4 separate regions of the Homo sapiens genome follow, and all the other regions are linked to region 1. The links are contacts of gene promoters, found by promoter capture Hi-C in blood cells and fetal thymus (Javierre and others, 2016). All regions are on one chromosome and are shown on one strand. The core of a region is centred on a gene start or on the middle of the fragment in contact, and the rest is flanking DNA. Distances in the headings are between cores, read along the strand shown. Region 1 holds the start of DAD1 (defender against cell death 1). Region 2 has its middle 260 kb from the start of OR4E1. Region 3 has its middle 290 kb from the start of OR4E1. Region 4 has its middle 320 kb from the start of OR4E1.

What was found. The method cuts DNA at HindIII sites, captures the fragments that hold promoters and counts their contacts. A CHiCAGO score of 5 or more calls a contact.
Region 2: a contact is called between a fragment that was not itself captured here and the fragment with the promoter of DAD1 in region 1, in 1 of 17 cell types (activated CD4 T cells). The highest score is 5.5, in activated CD4 T cells.
Region 3: a contact is called between a fragment that was not itself captured here and the fragment with the promoter of DAD1 in region 1, in 1 of 17 cell types (total CD4 T cells). The highest score is 5.0, in total CD4 T cells.
Region 4: a contact is called between a fragment that was not itself captured here and the fragment with the promoter of DAD1 in region 1, in 2 of 17 cell types (activated CD4 T cells and non-activated CD4 T cells). The highest score is 5.1, in activated CD4 T cells.

What each region holds. Positions count from the first base shown.
Region 1 is chr14:22,587,974-22,591,823 of GRCh38, forward strand. It overlaps DAD1 (defender against cell death 1), which reads right to left and starts at 1,251. Exons shown (of 3, transcript NM_001344.4): 1 at 974-1,251. The coding sequence starts at 1,184. RefSeq lists enhancers at 248-889, 890-1,531. The HindIII fragment of the contact is 712 bases long and covers 817-1,528 here.
Region 2 is chr14:21,930,385-21,934,234 of GRCh38, forward strand. It overlaps TRA. Among named protein-coding and RNA genes, the nearest start is that of OR4E1, 260 kb to the left of the region's middle. The HindIII fragment of the contact is 4,495 bases long and covers 1-3,850 here.
Region 3 is chr14:21,960,144-21,963,993 of GRCh38, forward strand. It overlaps TRA. Among named protein-coding and RNA genes, the nearest start is that of OR4E1, 290 kb to the left of the region's middle. The HindIII fragment of the contact is 3,440 bases long and covers 492-3,850 here.
Region 4 is chr14:21,987,583-21,991,432 of GRCh38, forward strand. It overlaps TRA and TRAV16. Among named protein-coding and RNA genes, the nearest start is that of OR4E1, 320 kb to the left of the region's middle. The HindIII fragment of the contact is 4,471 bases long and covers 1-3,850 here.

The sequences.
Region 1 (3,850 bases), core at 1-2,500:
GATCTGCCTACCTCGGCCTCCCAAAGTACTGGGATTACAGGCATGAGCCACTGTGCCAGGCCTCCAGACAATTCCAATGCTGTATTTTGTCTGTACCCCAACTAGACCATAAACTCTTTACGGATAAAGAACATGTGCCAAAGCTTTTACCATAATGCCTCATATTGGACTGAAAATACAACTGATGACCTGACTGATGATCACACTGAAAAGAAACCATGAATGCTGGCATGTTTTCAAAGTCAAAGTAGCAGGTGATACCAGTGATAGAGGCCACGCCTGTTTTCAGTATTCACTGAATCCCCGTTGGGCAAGAAAAGTCAGATTTTAACAAAAATTGATGGAGACTGTTCTCGCTAAATATAGCAGTCTACAAGGTTACCAAATCCTGGAATCAAAAGGAAAAATAAGGCTAAAATAGAGTTATGTGAACAAAAATTGGGTTCAGGACAGTGAAATAACAGCTTCCTCAACAAGAAAAAAAGTAGTAGCAGCTAAAAGGCAAAATCAAGTAAAGGATGATTCAACAAGAAAAGCACCAGTATTTATATTCTTTGCACTTTCATTGAAACGTTTCACCGGAGATTGGTAATGATTAGGCCAAGATGACAGAGATGATTCAAGGTTGGGTTTTTCATTTGAAAAGTCTACTAATTTTAGAGTTGTGTTAAACCTAAGTTAAAGTTGGAATAGGGTTTTCCCCGGACCAATATTAAGTGAAGTGGATCACCAAGTGGAGTAGCGGCACGAAGGTGGTTTCTTTAGACTTTTAAGTCCAACTCCTACGGAGCCGTTTGGTATTAGGCATATAATCTAAGCTTTCTGAGCCTCAATTTCCCCATTCACAACAAAAGGGCAATGCAGGCTCTTCTCATAACTTCAAGGGGCGGTGGTCTGATATAGAGTACTATGAAAACAAAAGCAGCACACCAAAGTAACACATTATTATTATGATCACTTATAGAACCATTACCCGCTAGGATGAAACTCCCCACACAAGAGATGAAGCCCGAGAGAAAAGAGTTGAAGGGGAAGGTCCCCACGAGGAGACAGTAACCGAACTGCAGCGCCCCGGTCAGCAGTATATACAGCAGGTACGCGTCCAGCAACTTCAGACGCTGCGGAGTGGAGCTCAAGTACTCTTCTAAGAACCGCGAAATGACAGACACTACCGACGCCGACATAACTGCACGCAAGGTACTCCGGTCCGCGCCCCAAACTCTTGGAGGACCCGTCGACCACACCGGATGTGCTGTTTGCGCATGCGCACCCTCGTGACCTAACTCCGCCCTCCCCGGTGTGCCAATTTGCGCAGGCGCTGAGGCCGGCCAGGGCGCGTAACAACTAATGCGCAGACGCGGACTGCATCAACAGACTCAACTACAACTCAGAAAAGTTAATGCGTCTGCGCAATGGCCCTATCAATGAGCTGGGGACGTGTACTCTTTCTGTTCTGTTTCCGCCCGTCAGCTCGGTGACGCCCACAGTTGCTCTGGCAACAAGACACACTGGGAGGAAGAGGGGAATAAGCTTTACTGGGGACCGCGTAGCTAACCAGAGGTATCCGGCTCTCTCTGGTCCTTCTGAGTCCTGGAAGATTTAACGGTTTGCATCTACTTTGAGGCAATGCCTGGCGTTCCTGGGGTTTGATACCAGCCTGACCCTAATTCTGTTAAGGGCGCTGTCTGCAGATGTCTGTCACAGATCATTGGAACAAGTCAAGTTCATCCGCAGTGAGACCCGGCGCGGCCAATCACTGCACAGGCCCCAGTTTAGACTTAATTACTTGGGGGAGTGAGTGGGTGTGGTGAGGGGCGGGAGGCAGGGAGGAAGCCTGACCTCAGCAGGGTTCTGAACTGGAACTCGGGATCTGGCCCTGCAATGCCAACATTTATTGGGCGCCTCCTTGGGGCCTGACGTTGTACTAACTTGTAGGGACTCTCACGTGAATCAGATATATTTGCAGCCTTAAAAGAGCTGGTGAAGGGAGGGACAGCTGTCGAATGTCGTGCAAAAAGCATATGGTCAAGTTTAGCAGCTCTCTTTCCGCAAGCTGGTATCTTGAACCTGGTGTAATATCCCGGGATGTCAGCGTCGAAAGGCCCGAAAGAGCATGCCTGGTTCAACCCTACTCTCTCCAACTCATTTTGCAGAAGAAACTGAAATGGTTTCAGGTTTTGTATTTTAACAAGTGGGATTATTTTGAGGGTTTTAACTGTTTTTTTTTTTTTTTTTGAGACGGAGCCTTGCTCTGTCGGCCAGGCTGGAGTGCAGTGTCGCGATCTCGGCCCACTGCAACCTCCGCCTCCCTAGTAGCTGGGACTACAGGCACGCGCCACCACGCCCGGCTAATTTTTGTATTTTCAGTAGAGACGGAGTTTCACCATTGTTAGCCAGGCTGGTCCCGAACTCCTGACCTTGTGATCCGCCAGCCTCGGCCTCCCAAAGTGCTGGGATTACAGGCATGAGCCACTGCACCCGGCCTGTTTTAACTTTTTTTAAGAAATTAAGTTCTGGCTTTCGTTGCCCTTTTAATTTCACGTGAATCCGACCTTCTAGACCCAGTTCATCTCACCTTTTAGCTGTAAGTTTTTCCACACATGACCAGGTACTTTATTTTCAGCTTCTTAATATTTTGAACTGTACGTGAGCAAAATTCCTAAAACAGCAGGTGAACAACAGCGTTCCTGCCTTTTCACTTTTTTTTTTTTTTTTTTTTGAGATGAAGTTTTGCTCTTGTCACCCAGGCTGGAGTGCAGTGAATGGTGCGATCTCGGCTCACTGCAACCTCCACCTCCTGGGTTCAAGCCATTCTCCTGCCTCAGCCTCCCGAGTAGCTGGGATTAGAGGCACCTGCCACCACGCCCGGCTAATTTTTGTATTTTTAGTAGAAACGGGGTTTCGCCATGTTGGCCAAGCTGATCTTGAACTCCTGACCTCAGGTGATCTGCCTGCTTCAGCCTCCCAAAGTGCTGGGATTATAGGAGTGAGCCACTGCGCCGGCCCCTTTTCACTTTTTATTTGCCTTTAGACTGGAAACTCTACACGCATTAACTAACGGATGTATTATCAGTGGTGATCAAAGCCTTACTTAAGTTCTAGAAAGAAGAGAAATAACCTAAGAAACCTTTAGAGTCTATTTGAATAGATAGATTTATATTCATACCCGTGGAGATTTGTGCAGCTATATGAACATAAGTTCAGCCTAAACCTATGTTGCTGAGAAAGAAAAAAAAAGAGTGGATAACAAGCTGGTTCTTATTTCAATATAATATGGCAGGAAGCATCAATTTCTCTGACAAGTTGAACCTTTCTCTCTGCCTCATCAACAAGTAGGAGGGTAGCTTCCTCACGAATATTCAACTTCAAACTTTACAGGCTAGGCTGATGCTTTTTAATCATTCAGGTGTGGATTCTTCAGGGAGTTTCTGTTCCATCAGCCAGGCTCCTTCCAGTGTTTTCTCCCTTATGTTTTGTCTGCCTTTGATCCATGTCAACTATCATCATTAAGATCTCCCCAGGAACTCTCACAGGAGAGAAGAAGAGATGAAAAACACCAAATGGACTTATTGAATGCATTTGTTTCTGAGACCTGCTAGTCACACCAATATACTACACTAGGGCTTTTCTGAACTACTTAAAACAGCAAGAAAAGGCCTACTTCTCTATTCGGTTTATGATTCTATAATCATTGAAACATTTTTAACTGATCTGTCAATAGGAAATTGCTAACACTAGTGTTGATTTCAATTAGTTTAAATCAGAATATTAATATAGTTTAAAATTCTTGTCCAGAGTAGTGGATAAGAGTGCAAGCTCTAGAATCAGACAGTCCTAGGTTTGAACCTTG
Region 2 (3,850 bases), core at 746-3,245, 660 kb before region 1:
AACTCTTTTCATTTTGGAAACCTGAAACTCTGTGACTACTAAACAATAGCTCTCTATTTTCTTCTCCACCTAATCCCTAGAAACCAGCCTTCCTTTCTGTCTTTATAAGTTTGACTACTCTAGGTACTTTGTATAACTAGAGTCATACAATTTTTTTTTGTGACTGCCTTATTTCACTTAGCGTAATGTCCTCAAAGTTCATTCATGTCATAGTATGAAGCAGGCTTTCAGAATTTCCTTCCTTTATAAGGCTGCATATTATTCAATTGTGTGTACATACCCTATTTTGTTAAACTATTTATCTATCAATGGAAATTTGAGCTGTTTCTATCTTTTGGCTATTGTGAATAAGCTGCTCTCAACAAGAGTATGCAAACGTCTCAATATTTGGGGTATATCCCCCAATTCTTTCAACTTTAGAAGTGATATACCCAGAAGTGCAATTGCTGAATCACATAATAATTCTATTTTTAATTTTTTAAAGAACTGCCAAACTGGTTTCCACAGTGGCTGCTGTACCATTTTACATTTTCACCAACAGGACACAGGTGTTTTGATTTCTCCACATTTCATCAGCACTTCTTTTACTATCATTATTTTTGATATGAATAGTAGCCATCCTAATGGGCATGAAGTAGTATGTCATTATGATTTTTATTTGCATTTCCCTAATAATTCGTGATGATGAGTATCTTTTCCTGTGCTTATTGGCCAATTGTATATCTTCCTTGGAAAAATGCCTATTCAACTACTTTGCCCATTTTGAAATGGGGTGTCTGTCTTTCTCTCTCTCTCTTTCTCTCTTTCTTTCTTTCAAGATGGTGTTTCACCATGTTGCCCAGGCTGGTTTTGAACTCCCGAGCTAAAGCAATTCACCTACCTCGGCCTCCAAAGTCCTGGGATTACAGATGTGAGCCACCGCGCCTGGCCTGGGTTGTCTTTTTTTTCTGCTGAGTTGTAAGAGTTCTTTATATATTCTGGATATTGATCTTTTGTCGGATATATGATTTGATATTTTTTTTTCCATTCCATGGGTTGTTTATCCACTCTGTCACTCCATTAATTGTGCCCTTTGATGCACAGTAGTTTTTAATTTTGATGTAGTCAAGTTTATCTAAGTTTTCTTTTGCATCCTATGCTTTTGGTATTATAGCCAAGAAATTATTGCCAATTCCATGCTTTCTGAAGGCTGAAAAAAAAGAAAAAAAGAAAAAGAAATTATTGCCAAATCTAAATCGCGATGCTTTTCCTGTAAGATAAGAGTGCAGTTTCACTCTTTTGCATGTGGATATCCAGTTTTTCCCAACACTGTTTGTTGAAAAGACTTTCCTTTCACCCTTAAACAGTCTTAGGACCCTTTCCTAAAATAATTTGGTTGTAAATGTGAAGGTTTAATTTTGGGCTCTCTATTGTATTGCATTGGTCTATATGACTGTCATTATGCAAGCACCACACAGCTTTTGCTATATTACTGTAGCTTTGTAATCAGCTTTGAAATCAGGAAGTGTTAGACCTTCCAAACTTGTTCCTTTTCAAGATTATTTTGGCTATTTGGGGTTTCACAAGCTGCCATATGAACTTTTGGATGGATTTTTCTATTACTGCAAAAACACTATTGGGATTTTGATAGGGATTGAATTGAATCTGTAGATTGCTTTTGGTAGCATCGACATTTTAATGATGTTAAATTCTCCAATCCATAAATATCAGATGTCTTTCAACTTATTTGTGCCTTATTTAATTTATTTCAGCAACATTTTTGTTTTCATTGTGCAAGTCTTTAGCATTGTTGTTTAAGTTTATTCCTAAGTATTTTATTCTTTTTGATGCTATTGCAAATGGAATTATTTTCTTAATTTCCAAAGTGTTCATTGTTAGTTTATAGAAATGCAATTGATTTTTGTGTGCTGTTTCTGTATCCTTCAAGTTTGTTGAATTCATTTATTAGTTCTAACTACAAGCATATTTAATGGTGGAATTTCAGGTGTTGTGACAGCAGATTGGAGAACAGGACATTTGTCTCATGTCCCTCAGGATAACTCATGTAGGCTGCAAAACTTCAAGCATACATAGAAGCATCAACTTCATAATGTAATCATTTTATATCTTTAATACATCAGGCCCTTCAAAATTTAGTTTAAATGTTGAGAAGTCAAAGAATGATGTCCTTCTAAGAATAAATATTCTAACACATGATGATGTGCTGAACAAGATGAAGAATTTGTATTTGGATACATATTTTTAAAGCAATGTTTAGTTAGTAATTGAAAATACTAAACCAGGAGAAAATAATGTGCACTCTGGTTTCCATACTAGAGAGATATAGAAGCAGAAAGTTTTACCTCAGTCCACAGATCTAGTAAATAAACATCCAACACTTAAACTTGGGTCATTTGACTCCAATTGATGAATTTTCAGCAAACAATGAAATATAAAAGTAAGCCAATTCAATATACAACTCCAGAAGTTATAAAATTAACAGTAAAATAAAATGGTTGAGAGTAGATTGAAGGAATTAAAAATAAAAGCAAGAAATTAATGGCTCAAAGGAAAATAACAAAATCAATGATAAAACCACAACATGATATTTTGAAAATAATTACAATACTAACATGATCCAGAAAAAAAAAGTGAGAAGGGACAAATGCATGCACAAAAAAAAACAACATAATTAAGTTGAATTTATTTTGGGAATGTAAAGATGATTTAATACTTGAAAATCTATTAATATAATGCTTGAAATTAACAAACTTTAAGAAGGCCAAAGATGTTCTAATGCCTGGTTTGGTGGATTGTTTCATTTGGATCTAGGATGATTCACTGTACCTGTGCATTTGTGCAAGCTCATTTAATTTGGTTGGCTCTTAAAAATATTCGGATTCTTTCTCTTAATTTGACCCCAATTATAGATATAGTGTTATTGTTCTTAAATTTCTTGTTGCATTTAGATTATTTCTATGAAGAAAGGGGAAAATGATAAATTTATTCAATCATATTTATGACAAAGTTTTGGCTTCCATATTATTGTTTTTGTATTTTTCTTTTATTGTGAAGTGTACCAAGTTTTATTTTAGAAATTGCTGGACCAGTAAATATTGTTCAAGTTGATGGGTTGTATAGACTTCAGATTTTTGGAATGTTCTTGAAAATTATTCCCATTTATGTCCTTAAACCTTGCATAATCTTGTGAAATAATGCTTCATAACAATGACTGACTGTGCACAGATTAAACAATGCTTTAAATAATGTTAGTCATTAGGAAGAATTAAGCTATGATCCTGTATGTGAGAAATTTTCATACTGGTTAATTTGAACAACTATGCTTTAGACTCCTTTATCACAAGCAAGTTTCCAGGAACAGAAAGAGAGTGGTCACTGGCCATGAATAAAGTTCCAGTACTCTGGTGGTTCACAGAAGTTTAGGAACTTTTTCAGCCTTGCTACCATGCATTGCTCATCAGGTGTTTAATAATTGGTCTGAAAGGAATGCTTATGCCACTACCTGGTGGTCAGCTCCTAAACTGCAGTTTATTCATCCTTTAAAATATGTTTTCTTTCCTCTTTTAGTCAAAGAATGAGACCTGAAATTATTTAATTATTTTAAAAAATTTCATTTGGATAAATAGAGCACCTATTAACTTGCTGTCTTAAAATATTTCAAGGGCTTGGGAAAAAGTCACGTTGGTGTCTTCTAACTTCTCTCTGAAATTTCTCTGAAAGCAATTTATACTGGAAAAAATAGGGAACACATGTTTTGCTATTAATGAGATTTATGTTCAAAACTATTAACTTTGCCATGTACTTACTTGCTGAATACTTTTGTGTTTTGTTACATTTTTTTTGTAAAGTG
Region 3 (3,850 bases), core at 962-3,461, 630 kb before region 1:
AAATTCAAATAATTAGCCTTGGTATATTGTTACAGGAATCCAGATTTTTAAAAATCTGGTTAAAGATCATTATTGCATTCAAATGACGGTTGCATAATTACCCTGCTTTTGACTGCCTGTGTAGTGACTATTAGGCTTCTCACAAGATTAATGGTCATTTGAGTTTGTAACACTAATTTCCCAGAAGGAATCTTTATTTCATTAAAGGATATTAGAAAATTGCTCAAGCGTTTTATTAGAAGTGATGGTTAATTACCACATGGGGCTATGTATATTATATCCTCCGAAAAATGCCTGCTTCATACCAGTTTGGAGAAACTTACCTTTCTCAGCTATGTATGTTATATCCTTCATAAAAGGCCTGTTTCATACCAGTTTGGAGAAACTTACCTTTCTCATGTGTAATTTAAATCTTTACTTTACAAATCTTTACAACTCCTTTAGTGAGGATTTGTCAGGTCTTGGATTTTGTCCCTTCTTACAAGCTAATAAGCTTGTTTCATTGAGGCTGTCAATAAAAACACAGGGCTCCTTAGTAAGAGACAAAGGATTTTTATTACTTATGGCACAACAAACAGCATGAACACTGATATATTTCCATCAGTTTCTCCTTCCTTTAAGTCCTCAAAAGATGATGTAATGGGTAGTAAGGGATGCTACCCATGAAGTGGTATTATGTCACAGGTGAGGAACTCTGAGCTTAGGAAGTTCATTGCTTTTATAACAAGCACTCAGCCAGCTTGCTCTTTGTCTCAGAGGGAGACATTACCTCATCTCCCAAGGTTGCTTGCTGGCATAACTCTGAGAAGTGATCCAGGTAGAATGCTCATGTCATTACACTGTTGGCACACTCATCAAGTCACGTTTGAGTACAAGAGACTCATGGTGGACTGCCTTTCAATAATATCCACTCCATGGTCTTACACTGGGTTAGTTGCTAGAAATTTATTTTATGAGTATGCCACTTTGTCAGTCATTCTGATTTGTGTAACTGAGAGATGTCATGACTAAATGCATTACATTTGTCTCAAGTAGCATTTAATTAAGGCTACTATCAGCAGAACTCTAAGAAGCAGAATGAGACCAACATGCAGTATTAACCTTAATTATGCTTGATCCAGCCAAATGTGAGTAAGTTCCAAAGTACAGACAGCTAGCATGTAGTATTTTATCTATTATAACCCATACATGAAAGTTCAGACTGAAATGTTGGTCTTTCTTTGAATTACCACAAAGAAAAAACCCTACCATTCCCAATATAGAGATGTTATATGGCCCCTTTCCCCCGGGCATAACCCAAAATGCACAAGTTAATCAAATTTGGGATTTATTATTAAACTTGATTTGGATAAGCATTGCATCACTTTGGTTAAACTACGTGAGCAGTGTCAGTGAGTATTTGCAATATTTGCAACCTCTGTAGCCATTCATGACATAACCCAACTGTCAAGATATCAGGGGAAGCATATACATTTGTGTCAGTCAATTTGAGACAAGGTTGTGCTGATTCTTGTGTTTGTATACTTATGAAGATGGGGAATCTATATTGGAAAGCTGCCACTGATAAAATAGTCTGGGAGCCACATTCACAAGAGTTTTCCTGTTTTCTTGGGATGTGGGAGGAGATAACAAACCAATAGCAGGACACAGAGTTGCTGCTTGGCTCCAGAAGACAATATGTTTGTTTTTCTATACTTGTTCTAGCATACAAAGAGAGCATTAGACCCTCACTTCTCCCCACTGGCCAGGGTCTAAGAGTTTCTCTTGCTATGTGCTCATCATCACTAATCATCAGAGAGATATCCATCAAAACCACAGTGAGATATCATCTCACACCAGTCAGAATGGCTATTATTAAAAAATTATAAAACAACAGATACTGTTGAGACTGCAGAGAAAAGGGAACACTTATATGCTATTGATGGGAATGTAAATTAGTTCAGTGCCTGTGGATAGCAGTTTGGAGATACCCCAAAGAACATAAAACGAAGCTATCATTTTACCCAGCATTCCCATTGTTGGATATATATGCAAAGGAAAATAGATTGTTGTACCAAAAGGATACATGGCTTCTTATTATTATTGCCATGGTATTCACAATAGCAAATATGTGGAATAAAACTCTGTGCCCATTGATGGTGGATTGGATAAAGAAAATGTGGTACATATATACCATGGAATACTATGTTGCCACAGAAAAGAATGAAATAATTTCTTTGCAGCAACATGAATGGATCTGGAGGCCATTATACTAAGTGAATTAATGCAGAAATGTTAAACCAAATATCACATGTTCTTACTTATAAGTGGGAGCCAAACACAGAACCTACGTAAACATGGCAACAACTATGGATTACCAAAGGGAGCAGGAACTGGGGGGTGCATTAAATAGTACCTATCGAGTACTATGCTCACCACCTGGGTGTAATATACACATGTAACAAACCTGCACATGTACCTCTTGTACCTAAAATATAAACTAAAATATTTAAAAATAGACTCAAAATTAGCACCATTTTCAGAAGCGTTTATTTTAAGATAAATTGCTTTTAAATGAAATCTTGTTTTGCAATACTCTGAGGTTCACAAGACATATCTAGAAAATGTACTATTGCGGAAGGTGAAGACGGTGTAAAACCAGTGGGGGAGAGGTCAGTGGTTTTTCTTATTGGTTGATTATCAGAACACTGTCCTTTGGGGATATGAAAGAGTTTTATATATTCTTTAGACATAATTAGACAAACAATGGTCCATAGGGCAGGTTTGATGCTGTACAAAGTCTGTCATTTTGCTAGCACTGATATGGTTCTTGGGTCCACCACAGCATTAGATCTGTTGATGCATTTATATTATGCTTTGTTACAAATCTTGAAAAGAGGGGTGCTTCTTACAGACTTTGCTTCAGATATTAGATTTTGTTTTAGTAAATTTTCCAAGACTGTAGTGGCTGCCAGCTTGTGTTACTTTCACTTTTCCTCTGGTTTTTGTATTTACCGAGAAATGGTCATGGTTTCTGTCAAGTGCAATGTACCCTTGGAGAAAGGAATTTCAATATTAGCATCTATTCCCTCATTCTATTTCCTAGGTAGTTGTTGGTGGGAATGGGAAAGGTTAGCCTCAGCCATCTTTGGTGAATACCGATTACATGGCTCTTGAGTGGAAAAAAGCCTGCTTCATTGTTGGCCTCTTCAAGGACATGAAACACGTTGTGGAACAGAAGAGAACAGTAGTTGTCTGTCCTTGTTTATCTATAGACTCAATTGAGTTTCTTGCATAGATAGCTCCCTGATAGATTTGGTTTGCTGGTTATGTCAGGATGAACAAAACCTATAACTTTTAGAGATTGATTCCTAGGTATCAGCTTTATACAAGAAAGGCAATAAGAGGGACAGGACAAATGAACAGGCACATTGGGTTTTATTGACAGTCTAGGTACTAAAGGCAGGTTCATCTCAATTGCACCAACCCAAGCAAGAGCTGTTTTGGCACAGATGCATCATTGGTGCAAAATGGAATGACAAAGTCCAAGCTCCTCCAGTTCCTGGCCTTGTTAAAAAATATTGCTTAGGCTATGGGCTGCAACCATGTTTGTTTTGTTCAGCTAGATTTTAGGCCATTTCATCTTGGAAGACTTATTTTGAGTTATAAGAAATTTCTTTAAAAGTTGTATATAACAGAGTAGTATAGGAATATGTGGCCTGACATTAAGAAGAGCTATACAGTGTGAAATTCTCCCTGAATTGCAAGAATCTCACTCAGATTTCTATAATAGAATCTGTTATGTCTGATTTTTTAGTTCAGGAAAGTGGCTATTAGAAATAAGTGGTCTTACTGACCCAAGAGTTGCCAT
Region 4 (3,850 bases), core at 934-3,433, 600 kb before region 1:
AACAATGATCATATTCTTAAATCTTTGTCTAACCATCCTTTGTTTTAAGAAATGGCTCCTTATTTCTGGGTTCATTTTGTACTTTTTGAGGTGTTACTTGATATATATGAAAACACACACATGTGCATGTTTGTCTTTCCCACTAAACTGCAATGTCTTGTGAGTAGAGAAAATGTCTTACTAATTTTTTAATTTCGTAAGACCTAGCACAAGATCTAGCTTACAGTAGACCTCAATAAATTACTAAAGACTTACTTTGAAATAAATTGGAGAAATCACATTAAACCTTGAGGAAGCAATTTGATAAAATATTTTAATATGGTAATCTCTTGTACATGGAATTTGGAGGAAGAAACCAGTTTCCTTTTTTTAAAAAAAAAAAATCACCATAAGCCTGACAGTTTTTTTGCTCTTGACAATCTGGGTGGTTCCTCAGGAAAGAATTGGGATGAAGGCTCTGGGACTCCACAGATGAGTTAGTGGGCCTGATGGTTTCAGACCACTAGGAGGCTCTCTAGGCTTTACTCTAAATGAGGAAATTTTCCCTCAAGTTCTGAGATAGCTGACTCAGCGAAAAACTGAGAGTTAGCATCAGTTAGCAAAGCATCTGAACTAGTCATATATGAAACGGACAGGGGGAGTCTCCATTTATTCATCTGCAAAGATGTTCTGTGGCTGTGATGGGTGTCACAGAGACGGTCTCCCAAGAAGACTGATCTTAGAAATCAACAAGGGAAATGATAAAGCTGGAAGCCTTACAGCTTTAATTTTTATGACTAAAACTTCTAAAATATGAGTCTCCATTCTGACTTTGAAATTATTTCAATAATTTCCACCTTCTTTTATACCTCCTTTGAAACTAGAAAAACAAGAAAAAGGAAATGAGAAGAAATGAGAAAAAAATAATGAAAATATTCAGAGAGAGGATAAAAGAGAGTAAAAGAAATAAGAGGTTGGGGGAAAAAAAGATGACACATTTAACTGAATTTCAAAATGTGGTCTATGCCTCATATAGTTTCTGTGTTGCAAGGTTAAAAAGTTCTAGAGATCTGATGCACGACAATGTGAAGATACTTACCACTACTGAATTGTACATGTTAAAATAGTCAAGATGGTAAATTTAATGTTATGTGTTTTTTTACCACAATAAAAAATGTGACCTCTACCTCTTGTTCACAGAGCAGAATTGACCAGGTGGGGCTGCAAAGTGAATGGAGAAGTGTTGGATAGAAGAAGAGAGATGGAAATAAGCTGGGGTGGCCATCATATACACGTGCTATTTCTCTATCAACCAAAGTCTCACTGGAGACATTTTATATGTTCATGATGACTATATGTCCTATGTTAACAGAATTCTCTTAATTTAATTGTATTGTATTTACTCCTTTAAGGGTGATTAAATAAACGATGCATTCGATGAGATATTCTTTCTTTGTGAGAGCTTTCTTATAAATAAAATCACAATCACTTTTCAAATCACATGTCCTGATTTTTTGGCTAAGGAAATTGGGCCACTGACCCTGATAATTTTTTCAGGCTGTACTTGATCCAGATGAGGCTCCCATTTGTCTCTGAGATATCTTTTCCCTTTCTTCACTCCCCTCCTGACTTGTCCGATTACTGGGTACTTTAAGTGGAGGCAATCCTGAGAGCATAAAAACCTAGACATTTCTGTGTCTCTAGTCAGCAGTGCGGCACTCAGCAGGGTACTGACGTCAGCAATTACGCCCGTACACTGCAGGAAAACTAGAGGAAAATCTCTTTGCTCCCTGATCTCATTGTATTCCACCTCATTTAAGTAACAGCATATCTCTTACTTTTTTCTCAGCTATTTGGAGGCCAGAGGAGAGACTTTCTCAAGAGAATTAGTTTTCTTTTTTAGAAAAAAATATATCTGCCGGAGACGCTATCTCCATGACCCATAGTTTTCTGCTCTTAATCCCGGAGCTTCTGTCTACTTGACCCCAGATTTATATCTGACCCCAAAATGGGACACCTCACTTGAGCTCTCTCAACACAGCTTGACTGGGAGCTGGAGAAAATCTTTGGTTAAGGACCAGGGATTGGGGACTCTTTCAATCTACCATTTTTCTAGAATTTCCGTCTTTCTGAGCCAAATGATTGTTCCTTTTTTTATGGCCTTCTTTTCTTTTCTTTTTTCTTTTTTTTTTTTTAAAGTGTATAGAACTAAAATCCCAAAGGGCCATTTCCTGTGTGGGGAAGGTCAGAATCAATGATGGTGGACGGAAAATAAAATAACTTGATCTGGCAATGTTTAAACATTTCACTAAAATATCTGTGTAGAAATTTAAATTTCTATGAAGTGTAATCGATCAATATTTTTTCTTATGTTTTTTGACTGTTATGCTTAGAAAATCCATCACCATTCTAAATTTATTTTAAAAATTTTTTATTTTACTTAAAATATTAAATGTTACGTCCTTTGAACTTTATTTGATAACAGGTATTAAGGTAGGCATCCTAACTTATCTGTTAACTTCCAAATGATTGTTAGGATTGCACATTTTCCCCCATTTTAACTAAGTTTCCAAATGTATTTGTATATTTGAACTTTGTATTCTACTTCATTAAGCCCTATATGTGGATTTTAAAAATAACATTCTATTGCAATTAGTATAGCATCACACTTTTACTGAGGAGGAAATTCTCATTCTCTGAATTTGAAGGCTTCCTGAAGCCTGAGTTAGCTGCAGTATTGTATTTGGCCTCTAGAGAGAGATGTTACACAAATTGAATTTGATAGCCAAAAACAACCTGATCTTTTTGAAGAATAGCTTTTGGCTATACATGCCGGGTAAACTCATCCACCTCTCTGTCAGAGTGTCTATGTGGCTGAATCGTTTCCAGAAAAGACCTCCAGAAAATAGCTTCCTGTTTCTCCACAGGTCAGACATGAAGCCCACCCTCATCTCAGTGCTTGTGATAATATTTATACTCAGTAAGTAAAGCCTCTTTTTGTTCTATTTTTCTATGGTATTCTGATTTAGAATAACTTTAATGAATATTATCCCCAGTCTGTAAGACTTTTCCTGATCCAGAATTGGTGTTATAGGAGGAACAAGAGCCCAGAGAGTGACTCAGCCCGAGAAGCTCCTCTCTGTCTTTAAAGGGGCCCCAGTGGAGCTGAAGTGCAACTATTCCTATTCTGGGAGTCCTGAACTCTTCTGGTATGTCCAGTACTCCAGACAACGCCTCCAGTTACTCTTGAGACACATCTCTAGAGAGAGCATCAAAGGCTTCACTGCTGACCTTAACAAAGGCGAGACATCTTTCCACCTGAAGAAACCATTTGCTCAAGAGGAAGACTCAGCCATGTATTACTGTGCTCTAAGTGGCACAGTAGCTGGTTTTGCAAGGAAGCAGAACACAAACCCTTTAAATACAGGAAATATTTCTTTGCAAACTCTCTGTATGGCCACAGCAGGGCATTCTTTCTCCAGAAATTAATATTGAGTTTATCTCGTAGATATTATATCATCAGTCATCAGTTAGCTATAGATTAACCTCATAATTTTGTCCAAAAAATTCTCATTATTTACCCTGCTTAAATTAAATTTAAAAATAGTAAATGTATTTATTTTGTCTAGTAGTACTGGAAACATACTTTCGAAATAAAAACTATATTGCACTGCATAAAAAGTATTCTTTTCTTTGTTCAGAGGTACTGTCCAGGCTTCCATGGTGCAGTCCTACCTCTTCAACTCCTCTGCTGCCCCACGTGATCCCCACATGTGGTTGTCACCACATACCTGAGCATAGTTCCTCAAAGTGCTCTGCTGTTTCATGGCTTATGATTGTTCATCTTTCTATATCTATTACCCTTCTTTCC